Regions from separate parts of the Homo sapiens genome. Here region 2 is linked to region 1. Evidence: promoter capture Hi-C in 16 types of primary human blood cells and fetal thymus (Javierre and others, 2016). All regions are on one chromosome and are shown on one strand. Each heading gives the region's core, a stretch centred on a gene start or on the middle of the fragment in contact. The rest is flanking DNA. Distances are from core to core; before and after follow the strand shown.

Region 1 (7,014 bases), core at 3,194-5,693:
TGTCCAGGCAAAAAAAAAACTCACGATGAGGAATACAACACAAACCTTAGGTGGCCAGCATGTCAGCAAACAGAGAGACGAAGGGACACTGACAAAAGCCAACCCCTCAAAAGAAACAAAGCAACACACCAAAGAGGTAGAAAGCAAAGGATTAAGATATGCCTAGAATGCTCTTGCTTATCAGGACCCTTAAAACTAATCAAGGTTCTTGTGTCTACAGTATTCCTAAAGGAACGTGAATATGGTTAAACTCTCCTTTTAGCTGGGAATCTGAATTAACATTAATACCTGAATTTTAACAGAAATTACATTAGACATTCCTTTAGGCAAAAGAGTATATATACAACACCGACATCTGGTTATAAAGAGCTAAGGAATCTCCCAGCTTCCCTAAATGCAGAAGATATCCTAGTGGATGCTTGTTGAGTTAAATGAACAATTATTTCTTTTGTCTCTATTGCAGATTATTTGTTTATGCTCTAAATTTTGTGTTAAGGACAAAAGAAAAATATATTGGCTGAAATGAATGTGTTATGTTATAGCCCCAGTTGAGGGTGAGGAAAGAACGCAATGCTAATGTGGTGGAGAGAATGCAGCAGTTCCTGGAATAGCAGTTGGGTTCCCTGGCTTGAGTCCCACTCTGACATCCTTGGCTGCTTACCTTGGGCAAGCCCTTCACCTCACAGCGTTTCAGTCTCATCAGATGTTAAATACTTTCTATGGGCTCTTCCATGTCTGAGATCTTATGAGGCTACAGGGAGCATGAATATTAGCCAAAGAAGCTGCCCAAATCTCTGAGTGTGGAGACCAGAGCAGTAGAAAGAGAATGTGATAATAGCAGTAGAAAGAGAAGGTGATAATGTGTAATAAGGGTTTTCAATAGGTATGAAAACCCTTGGAAAAAAGTAAAAGCACTGAATGACACACATTCTCCAATTTGCCATGGCATGTTCCAAAATCACAGGCGCCTAACCTTCTCCTGATAGCTCGGTGCTCACCCAAACATCCCATCATTGAGTTGACAGGAAGCAGAGAAGGCCAATGCTTTTCTGGTTGGGGACCTTGGCTGCAACAGAAAGGAAGAGGGGAGTGGAGTCAGCTTCATGAGCCAGTGGAATGGCAATGAACCCTGCAGGCTGATCTGCTCTAGCCTGGCGTTGCCAAGGAGGACGATCCACTTCATCAAACCTGGGCCAAGCTCTGGCTCAGACACACAGGCAAAAATAGAAAGGGGCTGGGAGAAGAAATGTGTTTACTTTTGTGATTTCCCCTAACGTGCCTCTTGACAGTATTATAATCTCTTCACAAACAGGAGTCATGGCCCACAGGCCTCACCTCCATTGATAAACCCTCTCAAACAATTCATGTACAGACTTAAAGCCTTCTTAACATTTCATGATCACTATTTGGGCAGCTAGAAAACAAGTTTAGAAGGCAGCATGATGGAATGGAAAGAGTGCTGGTGAGGGTCTGTTACTGCCTAGGTGAACTGTGAAAATCCCTCTCTAAGGCTCTGCACAATCAAGCGCTTGCATTAGAAAGAATGTATGTATCTGCTGAGATTTTTACAGTTTCTACCAGTGACTCTCAACCAGGGGCTAATTCGCACCTCAGGGGCTCTTTTGCAATGTCTGGAAACATTTTTGCTTGTTATAAGCAGGGGGTGCTATTGGCATCTAATGAACAGAGGCCAGAGGTGCTACACATACAATGATGCAGCCCCCATAACAAAGAGTTATCTGGTCCAAAATGCTAACAGTGCTAAGACTCAGAACCTTGGTTTACACTGAATCGAGGAGAGTCAGTGGGAGAAGAAAACAGGGACCAAAGGAAAGAAGGAAAAGGGGTTAAAATTCTGTTTCTAGTTCATGAGGTATCCATCAGTTATGTGTTCTCCAGCTTTTCTCCCCATGACCAATGCCTTTTGAATTTTCCCTCAGAATTACGGGGCCATGTCTGAGTAGCTTCCTCATAAGAACATCTTCCTTATCCCTAAAATGCCAAGCCCTGATGCAGTACAAAGAGCTCCACTGTAACACATGGCCAAGACAGAAATATAAACAGTTTTGAAACAAGTAGAACTGGAAGGTGGGTGGTGGGTGCACGTGGAGAGAAAAAAACATATCCCCTTAACTCCGCTTCTGTGAGTCAGTGTTTCTGAGGTAACAACACAGAACAATAACCATAGGGAGAGTTGAGCTATACTAAGAGCAGGCAGAACTGATTTGGGGCACAAGTGTCAGGAGAGATGCAGCTTTGCAGCAGCAGACTCAAAGGCAAATGAAAGGGTTAAGCAATCTGTGCATGTCATTCTTGTATCATTCTACATTAAGTCATGGGCAGTAATTACAAGTAGTTACCTGCGGTTTCCAGTGGGGGAGGCAACAGCACTCCAGTCAAGGGGTTTTGGAGAAACAGGTGCAATGAAGGCATGGTCAAACAATTTATTTACTGTAAACTTTAGACTTTGCTCGGGAAAACAACTGAAGCTGCTCCTCAAATCCCTGCCTAAAATACCCCGTGTGAGCAAATAAGAGGAGTGGGGGAAGAGTCCATGTTCACAGCTGAAAGGTCCGAGATACTCAAAATCCTCAAGTCCAAGGGTGTAGGAAGGAAAATCTCCTTCAGATACAAATTACCAGCAGCAATATATTACCCCTAATACTTGAATAGTGAGGTAGATACATGGAAAAGTCATGAAAATATAGCAGACTCAGGTCCTCTAGGACTAAAGCTCTTTAGACATAAACTTACAAATTCCATGCAAAGAGGAACTGAACTGTACAAATAACAAATAATCACTCAAATAAGTTTTCTCTCTTTTTACAGCTTAAAAAAATAAAAAAGGCAGAAGGATGCCCTTCCTTCTGCATATCTCTATACAATTTTACAATTTTATTCTAAGTTTATTACCCTCAAGTTAAATAGTCTGTTTAGTGTTCTGTTGGGGGGGGGGGTCTTTAAAAGTAGAAAAACTGCTTTACAGCAGTGAGTCATTTGTACTACAATTCCTCCCTTGTGAATCAATGTTATCGCTAGGCACAGTACCTTGATGGCCCACAAAGTCTTCCGTGCCTGGGAGGTCTTCACACAGCAGTTTATTTTCTTTCTCCTGTTCCACGTGATATCCACTCTGCTCCCCTGTGTTGCCGTTGCTGGAGTAGCCATTCCCATAGGCCTTCAAAGAAGACCTGCGCAGGCACAGAAGCTCCTGGAAGGCAATCCTGAAATCTGGGCTCCGGCAGTAGATAAGGGGATTGAAACCAGAATTGACATAGCCTATCCAATTTAGGAGGATGTAAACTTCCTTACGGATGAGGTTATCCTGGATCACATGCACAATGTTAACGATGAAGAAGGGCAGCCAGCAGAGGGTGAAAGTGCCCATGATGATGCCTAACGTCTTGAGGGCTTTGTGCTCCTTCAAGCAGAACTTGGAAGATCTGCGGAGTCCATGCCCCGTCCGCCCATCCTGCTCCACCTGGCTAAGGTTCTGGACATGGAAGCGGCCCTCAGATTTGTCAATCTTCTGGAGCTGCCTTTTGGCCTCCTGAAAGACCCTGGAGTAGACGAAGACCATGATCACCAGGGGAACGTAGAAGGACACGATGGAAGAGGCAATGGCATAGGCTTGGTTCGTGAAGAAGTCACAGCAGGTCTCATTGGCATAGCAGTTGATGGCTTCCTGGTGGGTGGCCCGGTACCAGTGCATCTGAATGGGCAAGAAGGAGGTAAGGCCTGACACAATCCACACCATCAGAATGATCACCCGGGCCTTATTCTTGGTCAGCAGGCTCTGGTACTTGAAAGGTGAAGTAATGGCAAAGTAGCGATCCACTGCGATCACGCACAGGGTCTCAATGCTGGCCGTGACGCACAGCACATCAATGGAAGTCCAAAACTCGCACCAGAAGTTGCCAAAAGTCCACATTTTCATAAGAATATGGGCGGCCCCAAAGGGCACCACTGCCAGGCCCATGACCAGATCAGCACAGGCCAGTGAAGTGATGAAGTAGTTGGTGACCGTCTGCAGACGCTCGAACTTGGCAATGGCTGTGATGACCAGCACATTGCCAAACACGATGGCCAGGACGATGAGAGACATGACGATGCCCATGCCCACCACCCACACCTCGTCCCTTTCCTGCGTGACGTCGTGGTCCGGCGCATGGCTTCCATTGGGTGCCAGCAAGAAGGCGCTGCCGTTCCCGGGTTGCCCCATGGCGCGCAGTCTGGCAGGTGAGCGCACTGGCTGGGGGCGCCTCAGCGGGCGGACCCACGGCGGGGCTCTGCGGGCCGCGAGCGGACGCCTGGAAGCCTCATTCAGCGGCTGTGGTGTGGGTGTGGTGGGGACTCGTCCTGCACACTCAGCTTGTCGGGTGCTAGGGGCTCGCGGTGCCTGCCAGTTCCAGCCCGTGCTCTGAAGAAGCCGCTTCGCAGTGCGTTCTGCCCGTTATGTGCACAGGACTTTAGGGGAACTGCCCTCGCCGTGACGTACGGGAACTTTCGGCCAATGGCACGCCGGCAGCCGCGAAGGGGCGAGGCACTCCTCCCCTTTCCCTCCCCTCCCCTCGCCCTCCTTCTCCTGGGGCTGGCCCGGGCGGGGCCCAACTGCTCCCTGGAGGGCGGGCCACCACTGCTTCCCGGCTACCCTGGCTGGCCCCAGAGGGCTAAAGCTGGAGGTGGTGTCCTTACCAGCCAACCCGGGAGCTTTTGGCTCTTCTGTGGCCGCTACCTGCCTGCCCTGGGCGCCTGCGCGGCTTGAGGTCTCAAGGCAGAGGGCAGCACACCGGCACTGCCCCACATTCGGAAGGAAACGAGAGTGCCCACCGAGGCACGCACATACAGGCACAAATACACCCTGGCAGACATGCTCAGACTTATACCGAACCACAGCCATAGACACTGAGACACACCCTCCCAGCTCACCGACATGCACACTCGCGCGCGCTCTCACACAGAAGCCATCCGGCACAAAGTCACCCCTGTCCAACACAGAAACGCGGCCAGAAACAAACACAGAAGCACCCAGAAGCACAAAGACATGGTGACACACACAGAAAGTAAACACACGCTGGCTTGGAGGCATCCAGAGCGACACAGACACGGATGTCTCCATCTGGGTACTCCGAACTTGCCTCACCCGAGCACTGATAATGCTCCCCTCCCAACATACACCCGGTAACCCAGTGTATTCCCTTTCAAACATTTGGCAAGAGCACAGGAGGTGACTTCAACAGCTGCTGATTTCCTCAGCACACTCGCTGTCAAGTACTTTAGGTGCCCTCCTTAGGAATTTGCAGGCATGAAGACAGTTTTACCCTTTGGATTTTATCTGGAGCGGGGGTATGCAAGTATGTATTTTGGGACAGAGAGAGAAAGTTGTGTGCTTTTGTTTTAATTTTTTTGTTGTTTTGTTTTTAACTCTTGAGAGTGTGGCATCACTCACTCATTATCTGTTGAACTGGAGATGCAATGAGAATTCAAACAATTTCTTCAGTAAACCCAATGAAACTAAAAAAAATCCTTTCATCTGCTGGATAGTTTGTTAATCTTTCGGGTTGTGCCATGTGAAATTGCCACCATCTGGCGTCTGTGACTTACCAAAATGGCAAATTCATATGGTTCAGAGTATTAAGAATGTCTTAACATTAAGAACATTTTGAAGCTATAGAAAGCAAAAGATCCTGGCCAATATGGTGTAACTCTTGTCTCTACTAAAAATACAAAAATTAGCCAGGTGTGGTGGCACGTACCTGTAGTCCCAGCTACTCGGGAGGCTGAGACAGGAGAATCTCTTGAACCCGGGAGGTGAAGGTTGCAGTGAGCCGAGATCACGTCACTGCGCTCCAGCCTGGGTGACAGAACAAGACTCCATCTCAAAACAAAACAAAACAAAAAACACAAGATAATTCTCCCTTAAGAAAAAGAAAAAAGTAAGACCAAATCTCAAAAGTAAGATCTTTGTTCATGAAATACTATCCTTTCCATCTGGCATGTGACTTTACTGCTAAAGTGAAATTAATTTTCAGGGTTTGATTTCCCATGTATTAGTGGTGTCTTTGAAAAACTGAAAGTATTTCATGAAGTGTAACTAAACGTACTTTGTAGATTACATAATAACATAACAATGGTTAACATTTATGGACCATTCTGCTATTTGCTTTTCATGCATTATTCTATTTAATCCTTCCCACAGTCCCATGGGGGTGGGGACTATTTTTAGCTTAATTCACAAATGAGGTTCAAAGAGGAAAATGGCTTGCCCAGGGGCAATGGCTGGGCAGTGCCAGAATCTGGATTTGACCCAGGTCTGCCTGAGTCCAAGACCCATCTTTTAATCTTTTCAATGTATTGCATAATTACATGCAGACAGGAGTGATGGATAGGGAGGAAGGGCTACAACTGGAACTGGAATACCCAGGTTCCAGATTCACCAAACTTGGAGCTTTCTAGTTCATTTTTTTTTTTTTTAAGAGAAATCACGAAGTACCTGATTTCCATTGTCTCTAAAGGGGCATAAAGTCACTTCCATTGGGGTAAGCAAGAATTGAATGATATAGTAAGAAATATGAAAATGCTTTTGCTCATATAAGTGTCACACAAGTGTAGTTTGTAAGCGAAGTTTACATAAATTACTTAGTGGTTTAGAATATGTTGTTAGTCTTCTCTACTAGAACAATAAAATACTTTAGGGCAAAAGTAAGTTGGGTGTTTACTCTGGAAGCAAAGCTCAGAAACAGAATTTAACCTACATATCCCCTTTAACATCCTTCATAGCAGAAACTGACTTTTTGCAAGACAGATGCCTTAGAAAACAAGTATTTCCCATAAAATCCACAAATATGAATTAAAGATCTATTATATTCACATAGTTTTCAAAATACACTCACCTCATATTTGTGTTTTCCAAAATTGGCTGTGGCATGATGCATTTTAGGAAGAGGCAGTATTTATTATGCAACAACGTTTCTTTAAATATGCATCTACTCAAATTGTGGAACTAAACCATTT
Region 2 (7,335 bases), core at 2,345-4,844, 220 kb before region 1:
TGGGGGACAGTTGGGTGACTGCATTTTAGGATTGAAAATGTGCATATCCTTGCATTTCCAATTGCACCTCTTAGAAATACATGTGTTAAAACAATTAAGAATGTGCACAAAGATTTAGCTATAAAGATGTTTATCACAGTACCATTTAGGATTTTAAAAAATGTAAAACAATCCAAACATGAAACCATAAGAAAATGATAATAATTCATTATGTTAATGCAACAATGGCACATGTAACCATTAAGAATGGTGTAAACTTTGTGATGACATAGAAGATGCTTTGCAAAATATTGCTTAGCAGCAAAAGAAGATTGCAAAATAATTTATGCAATGTGATTCTATATATGTGAAATAGTTATATGGAAACTTGTGTAGGAAAAAAGATGCAAATTTATTACATGAAGATGTTAACACTGATGATCTTTAGGAGTAGGGACTAGGGATGATTATTTTTGTGTGTTTTGGTTTTTCTGTTTTCAGCTTTGTATTAATAAAAATAATCATTAGACATAGACTCATAATCAAATTTGCTTTCAAGATGCCTTCTATGAATCAGCGTCCTTTATCCTCCCACATACACTTTTTTTTTTAAACACAAAAAGTAGCATTCTTTGCCCATAGTTCTATTCCCTGGCTTCTTTTGCTGCTGCCGCTGTATAGCAGTATTATATCTGGAGCCTATATCAGTACACAAAGAGCTTCTTTCTTCTTTTCTGTGGCTGCATAATACAATATTTCACTTTATGGATAAATTGTACTCCATTTTAACCAATCTCTTATTGATGAATATTTAAGTTGTTTCCATTTTTTGGTGACGTAAAAATCAATGCCATAATCAAGAAGTTCATACAGAGTATTTGGTCTATATAAGAGCTTGCTAATGGGACACTTCTGTCATCCCAGGCTGACTCATTGTTTCCTTTACGTAGGACCTCTCAGCAAGGTTGGTCAGTATCCAGTCTCAGAGGGCCCAGTTTCTCATCACCTTCAAGACCATGGAGGAAATCTGGAAGTTCTCCACCTACCTTAATTTAGGTATGGTACAAGGCAAGCAGGTGGAGGATGACCTCCTCCACAATTTAGCCAATTTGTAGGGCTTGACATGAAGGAATTGGCCTGGCTCTGGTAATTAAGAGAAATAGAGCCTTAAAAAAGATGGTTAACTTTTGAAATTTCACAAAGTGCCTCAAACTAAATCTAAGGCAAATATTAACTATTATTCTAAAATGCCGTATGAAGAAGTTTGCTTTTTTGTGTCCAGGGAGATCTTTTTTTATTAGATAACCAATCAATTGGAAAACAGTTATTGGTCATCTACTAAGTTCAAAGTACTGAAATAGATGTGAACTTGGTGCTAGTGTGTGTGTTTTAAACTATAGGGAACTAATCTTGAGTAAGATCGAAGTAGCTGCTCAACATAGTCAATAGCAAAGTTCCAGATGTTTTATTGCATGTATTTGGAAAAGAGTTAAAGAAAGAAATAGAGAAATTATCTGCTTATAGCAACCTAAGGCTGCAGCGTTTTCTAGAAGGTAAAGAAGGACATTGGGATGCAGCGTCAGTTCCACTGTGGTGGGAAATGGTTCACCTGCCTTCTCCAGACAGAACAACTTATAATGGGGAAGTTAAAGTGAAGCCAAACAAAACAACAGGCCACCTAATTTGATGGATGTTTTATATCTCCCAGAAAATGCTGGGCTCCATGCCGACATACACAAGGACAGATTTTGTGCAGGGGTGGAGGGTCAAGATGACTCATGACTGGAAAACATAAGGTGTATCTTCTCCTCTTATGGTCTGGAGATCTGATCTCCACACTACACATCTCCTTCCTGACCATCAGACATCCTCACTATTCAAACTGTGCTCCATAGACCGGCTCGTTGGCAGCACATAGAGTCTGTTAAAAAAAAAAAAAAAAAGGAGAAGCTCAACCCTATCTCAGACCTTTACTAAGCATTTGTAGTTTAATAAGATCCCCATGTGATTTGTGTGCACATTAAAATTCAAAAGTGCAATTATAGAAGATACATAAGGCCTAGATCAGCACAATGGACAGTCAGGATAGAAACAGACAGGCTTTTGCATCTTAGGAAACAGAAGAAGCCTCAAGAGAAGCAATACGAGTAGTTCATGTTTATAGCCATGTTTAAAATACTATATATAATTATTAGAGTTTTACAATTTACATAGTTTTTAGTCTGCTTTTACCAGAGAGATCTTCTGGGCATTGGAGGAGGGGCAGGGTCAGAGCTGGTGGGTGGAAGGAAATCCTGACTCCTGAAATTCACTGAGGGGGAGCCATGTAGAACCTCCTCAGCCACTGCATCATCAGGGACACAGTAGTTTGAACCTCAGGTCAGGAGAACTTTAAGGGGGCACTAGGAACCCCCATAGTCAACACTGTAAACTTGGAGACCTCCGTGGCTGTATTAGAAAAAGGCAGTTGGTTTTGGTCATCTCATTATGCATTTATGGAAACTCACAATATGTTGAAATGGTAAATAACATTTAGAAATGACTTGTATTTCCCAATAGATGTTGAGAAGACTCAACTCATTCTAGAAAATGTCTGGCTTTGCCTCTTATGTTGTTTTAATTCCAGTTAAATGGCAGGTTGGGGCTTGTGGTCTGGGAATCAAGCTCAGGAGGGAATTTTCTCACTCTCTTCTGTGCTCAGCTATGTCAGAAATCATTTTGTTCAGAAATCTTGTTGGCTTGACTTCTTAGGCTACGTATCCATGTGTCTAGAACATCTCCTCTTTGACCACAAGTACTGGCTCAACTGCATATTGGTGGAGGATACAGAGATCCAAGTGTCTGTAGATGATAAACACCTGGAAACAATATACCTGGGACTCCTGATACAGGAAGGTGAGTGTGGCATAGGGGTAGAGATGGGATCTTATTCAGATATTTGCTACCAGAGGCCATGAAATAAGCAGGATGCAAAGGGAGGGAAAAATCATTCAAACATGGAATATTCACAAATGAACCCACCTGTTATAATAGTACTTTGAACATTCCTCTGAGTTCAACACTGACATTACACGAACAGCTGTGCTGGTCAGTCTCACTGATTGATGTTAGAACTGCTTGGAGAGTTTTACTAAGATACCCAAGCCAGGGCTCCACTTAGGCCCATTAAATCTCTGAAGGTGAAGGCCCAAGTATTGGCATATTTTGGAAAGTTTTCCACATAAGTCTAATGTCTACCCAAAATCGAGAAACCCTTTTCCAAACGTGATAAAATTTGATTGTAAAATAAAGTTGCAAATGTTGCAAAACTTGAAGTTTTTTATGAAAGTGAGGAAAGTGATGTTGAGGAACCTCTTGGAGCACCTCTTGATCTGTTTATAGGTGAGAGTCCCATCAAGGTTATCATCTACCAATTAACAACTATGAGGTGGATAAGCCTGATGACATCACAGACACGTGGAAAGAGCCAGATTTGCATATGATATTTTTGCAAAAAGGACTCTTATGATTGCATTGCAGAAATATTGCATGAAGGAAAGAATTTAATATCATGCTATTATAAAACTTATTGGAGTAATTATATTCACCCAAACTAATTTAATCAATTCTTTTTTGGTTCTAATTTTAATCATGAGGTTGCAACAATAAATGAAATTCTATTAAATATAAATATATTTTCACAAGTTTTCATCTCTTTTTCAAGATAAAGTCCCAATTAAGCCTTTTTCTCATAGATTATTAGAAATGTTGGTGTCTGTTTTAACTGAATTCCCTCTCAATGGCTTTTTTCTTCCTGGTATCAGTGTTCCTGGGATCATAAGGCCTCTTTTAGTGTCTCCCCTGTGAAACGTCTACTTTACTTCCAGGAAGAAAAGTACTCCAGCTCTGAATAGAAGCATTACTTTGTGTGATAATCCGTTTTCACTTCCTGCTACTCCTTAGAAAGCCATTGCTTTTCTCATTATCCACAGGCCACTTCTTCTGCAGAGCCCTGTGCTCCGTGACTCCACCAGCCGAGAAGGAAGGGGAATGCTTGACACTTTGCAAGAATGAGTTAATCTCAGTGAAGATGGCAGAAGCTGGCTCCGAGTTGGAAGGCGTGTCTTTGGTGACAGGTCAGCGGGGCCTGGTACTGGTGTCAGCCTTGGAGCCTCTGCCTCTCCCTTTCCACCAGTGAGTAGCCATCTGCCTCCTGGGAGCAAGTCCCAGAGCAGACTGAGGTTTGCACAGAACAGAGTAGGCATGCTTTCAGATATGGGCATCCATAGTGTGGAGGAGAGAACAGATTCTGGGTGGGTCTTTATCTTTCTGTCTTTTTCTTTTCTTTTTTAACAACCAAGAATTTTAACAATCTGATGAAATTGGAGACAACTCTAAATTTCAGATGGGCATTGTACCTAGCAGCAAATATACCACACGACCGCCAATGTAGTGTTTCTCCATGTATGGACTGGGGACCACTTGTCTGGGCCTCCTTAGACTTTCTTGGGGTTGAGTCTAGGAATCTTCATTTTAAATAAACTTCCTAGGAGATGCTTTTCACACTAAAGTTTAAGAAATCCTGCTGGAAGATATGATTAAACTTAAATATACAGATTGACAGTAAACATTACCCCACACCATGGACCTGTGTGGCTCTGGCAGAGATCTGACAGTTCAAGTGTAAAGGGATTGTTTGTTAGTTATTTAACTGACAAACTACTTTCGGAGCCACAAAATATCCCAGGTCTACTAACTTCTCACCTTTTCACAGGTCCTGGTAGAAAGTAAGTTCTCAATAAACTTTTGCCATCATTTAAATAAGAGAAAAAACAATACTCATCATCATCATCATTATTCTGATAGACTGTTCTGTTCATTGTTGCAATTTTTTGAAATCTGTGTTTGCAAACCCCATGTTTTCATTGGCAGGTGGTTCCTAAAGAATTATCCAGGAAGCTGTGGCCTTTCCAGGAAGAGGGATTGGACAGGCTCCTATCAGATTGGTATGGCTGAGTCAAAAACATAGTATTGTTAGGGAGATAATGTTGTCCTGCCTCTCAATTTTATCTGCAGGTTTGGAGTCAGTTGATGTGAATTTTTGTCTCGTCTCTGCTAGGAACTGGATTTAGGGAAGCCAGTTTCTGTCTGTGCACATGGTTTTCCCTGCCTGTGAAATGAGAGGTCTCAATCCAGGGGGCAGCTACAAATGCCTGCAGGTGTGGGCAGGACACACAGATGCTAGGGGGCCTGGATGGAAGGTATTAGGGAATGGCAGGAATAATTAGGGATTTTAAGATATATGAGTGAAAAAACAGGGCCAAATTAAATGTTTCGTGAGCCAAATGCGGCCTGTGGGCTGCCTGTTTCAATCTCTGGTCAAAACATTTTCTAATTTCCCTTAGAGTTTTGTAAAATTAACTTTGAATTTAGGAAGAGTAGAAATGCCTGGCACATAAGGGTACTCAGTAAAAATTTGTTGAATAAATGAATTATATACACACACACACACAATTTAAGTAATCTGTATGTGTGTATACACACATATCTGTAAGTACTGTAGATCCATATCTACTGGATAATGAAGTCCAACACTTTTTAGACATCTAGAAATACCTTCTGTTCATCTTCATCTTTAGAACTCCCCTTCACCTCCCTCCCACACACTCCTACCACAAAGTACAATTTTATAAGTGCTGAGCCCAAATAACACAAAAAAAGAAATAGGATTATGGAACCCAGACATCAGATCTAATAAATTACTGATGACAAACAAGATTTTTAGCTTCCTAAAGCAGTACAGCCTTGTAGTTAGAACGCAAGGCTTTGAAGTCTATTCTGGTTCAAATTCTGGCTCCTTGACTTAAAACCAGTGTGATCTTGGCCAATCCACCTGCCCTATGTTGCAACTTCCTCATTAGTAAAATGATACAATAAAACCAACTTAAATGTTGTTATGAGAACCAAACAAAATGACATCCATAAATCACTTTGCACAGTTTCTCTTACAATGTAGATATTTAACACATGGTAGATCCCATCGACCCACAAAATAGTGAGAATTTCTGATCTTGAAAACACAATCTAGAAACTTGACCAAAAATGTCAGAAAAAATAGGCTAGTAGCTTTAGCAGAGAAGCTAAAGCAAATATGGAAACTGAGGCACATAAAAGCCTTTATCTCCACCAGGATTAATGGAGAGGCTAACCAGCAGCCTGAAGACTTAAGCTCTAGACTCAGTTTTGCCATGCATAAGATCCTTAGACAAATCTCATACCCTCTCTCTCCCTCCGTAACCTGGGAAAAGGGGATTCTGATAGTTTCCGTGCCCTTTGAAGCTCTTGAGAAGACCTGAGAAAGTGAGTGCAAATTGTACTTTGTAAACTGGACAGAAAAACATTCATCAAAAGGTCATTGCTAGATCCTAGGTAGGCAATTTATCAGATTGAGTACCATAGTCTGAAAGGGAGTCTTTTAGATCCTTCTAAGTCATTAGCAGCTTTCTATTCCACCAGTGGTAATAAGGCTAATGTTTATTGAGGGTTGACCAGGTACCAGGCATTGTGCACTGTATCTCTTTGATTCTCTTTAATATTTATAAGCAGCAGGTATTCCTATTATCCCCATTTTCCAGTTGGGGAGACTGAGGGTCATAGAGGCCAAAGGAGCTGGAAGGACATGGAGAGCTTCTCTGGTCGAGTGGTTCTCACACACTGGTCTGTGGATTTGTGCCAACCATGACAAAGCATTTACATTACAGTGGCAAAATCAGACAAACCAGGACAATACAGTGAGCTTTCCAGTTTCCCATAAGCTATGTTTATTCATTTTTAAGGCATATCCGCTATCTGAGAATCTTTTTTTGTGTTTGTTAAAACATTTTTTCTTTGGTGAAAGTGGATTGTAGTTCTTTTAAAAATATGTCCTAGTTTGGCAAAATGAAAAGCAAATTGTCCTGTGTCATTCCTGCCAATTTTTGGGTGGGGAGGGGAGTGAAATGTTACTGGTCCTTGACATTCTAAAGTCTGGGAACCCCTCATTTTCTATTGCATTGGAAGGTGATGGGAGGCTCAGCTGTTCATGTCTTCTGTAGCTGATCTGTGTGCTATTTTCCACAGGCAGAGGACGCTGTAAGGCCTTGACGGGTTATGAGCCAGGAGAAAAGGATGAACTGAATTTCTACCAGGGAGAAAGCATTGAGATCATCGGCTTTGTCATACCTGGGCTTCAGTGGTTCATTGGAAAGTCGACAAGTTCAGGACAAGTGGGCTTTGTCCCCACCAGGAACATAGATCCTGATTCTTATTCCCCAATGTGAGTATTGACAGTGAGCATGTCCTGGAGCTGGGCTCCCTTTCCCAGGGTTCCCTCCCCTC

Evidence for each region. Contacts are between HindIII fragments. The CHiCAGO score rates a contact against its expected background, and 5 or more counts as called.
Region 2: a contact is called between a fragment that was not itself captured here and the fragment with the promoter of ADRB2 in region 1, in 4 of 17 cell types (megakaryocytes, neutrophils, monocytes and 1 more). The highest score is 6.8, in megakaryocytes.

What each region holds. Positions count from the first base shown.
Region 1 is chr5:148,824,040-148,831,053 of GRCh38, reverse strand. It overlaps ADRB2 (adrenoceptor beta 2), which reads right to left and starts at 4,443. Exons shown (of 1, transcript NM_000024.6): 1 at 2,431-4,443. The coding sequence starts at 4,222. The coding sequence ends at 2,981. RefSeq lists enhancers at 3,543-4,128, 4,985-5,144 and silencers at 4,175-4,314, 4,405-4,714. The HindIII fragment of the contact is 9,818 bases long and covers 1-7,014 here.
Region 2 is chr5:149,038,233-149,045,567 of GRCh38, reverse strand. SH3TC2 (SH3 domain and tetratricopeptide repeats 2) reads left to right here. Exons shown (of 17, transcript NM_024577.4): 4 at 930-1,035; 5 at 2,731-2,874; 6 at 3,951-4,152; 7 at 4,891-4,964; 8 at 7,078-7,273. Among named protein-coding and RNA genes, the nearest start is that of MIR584, 21 kb to the left of the region's middle. The HindIII fragment of the contact is 9,447 bases long and covers 1-7,335 here.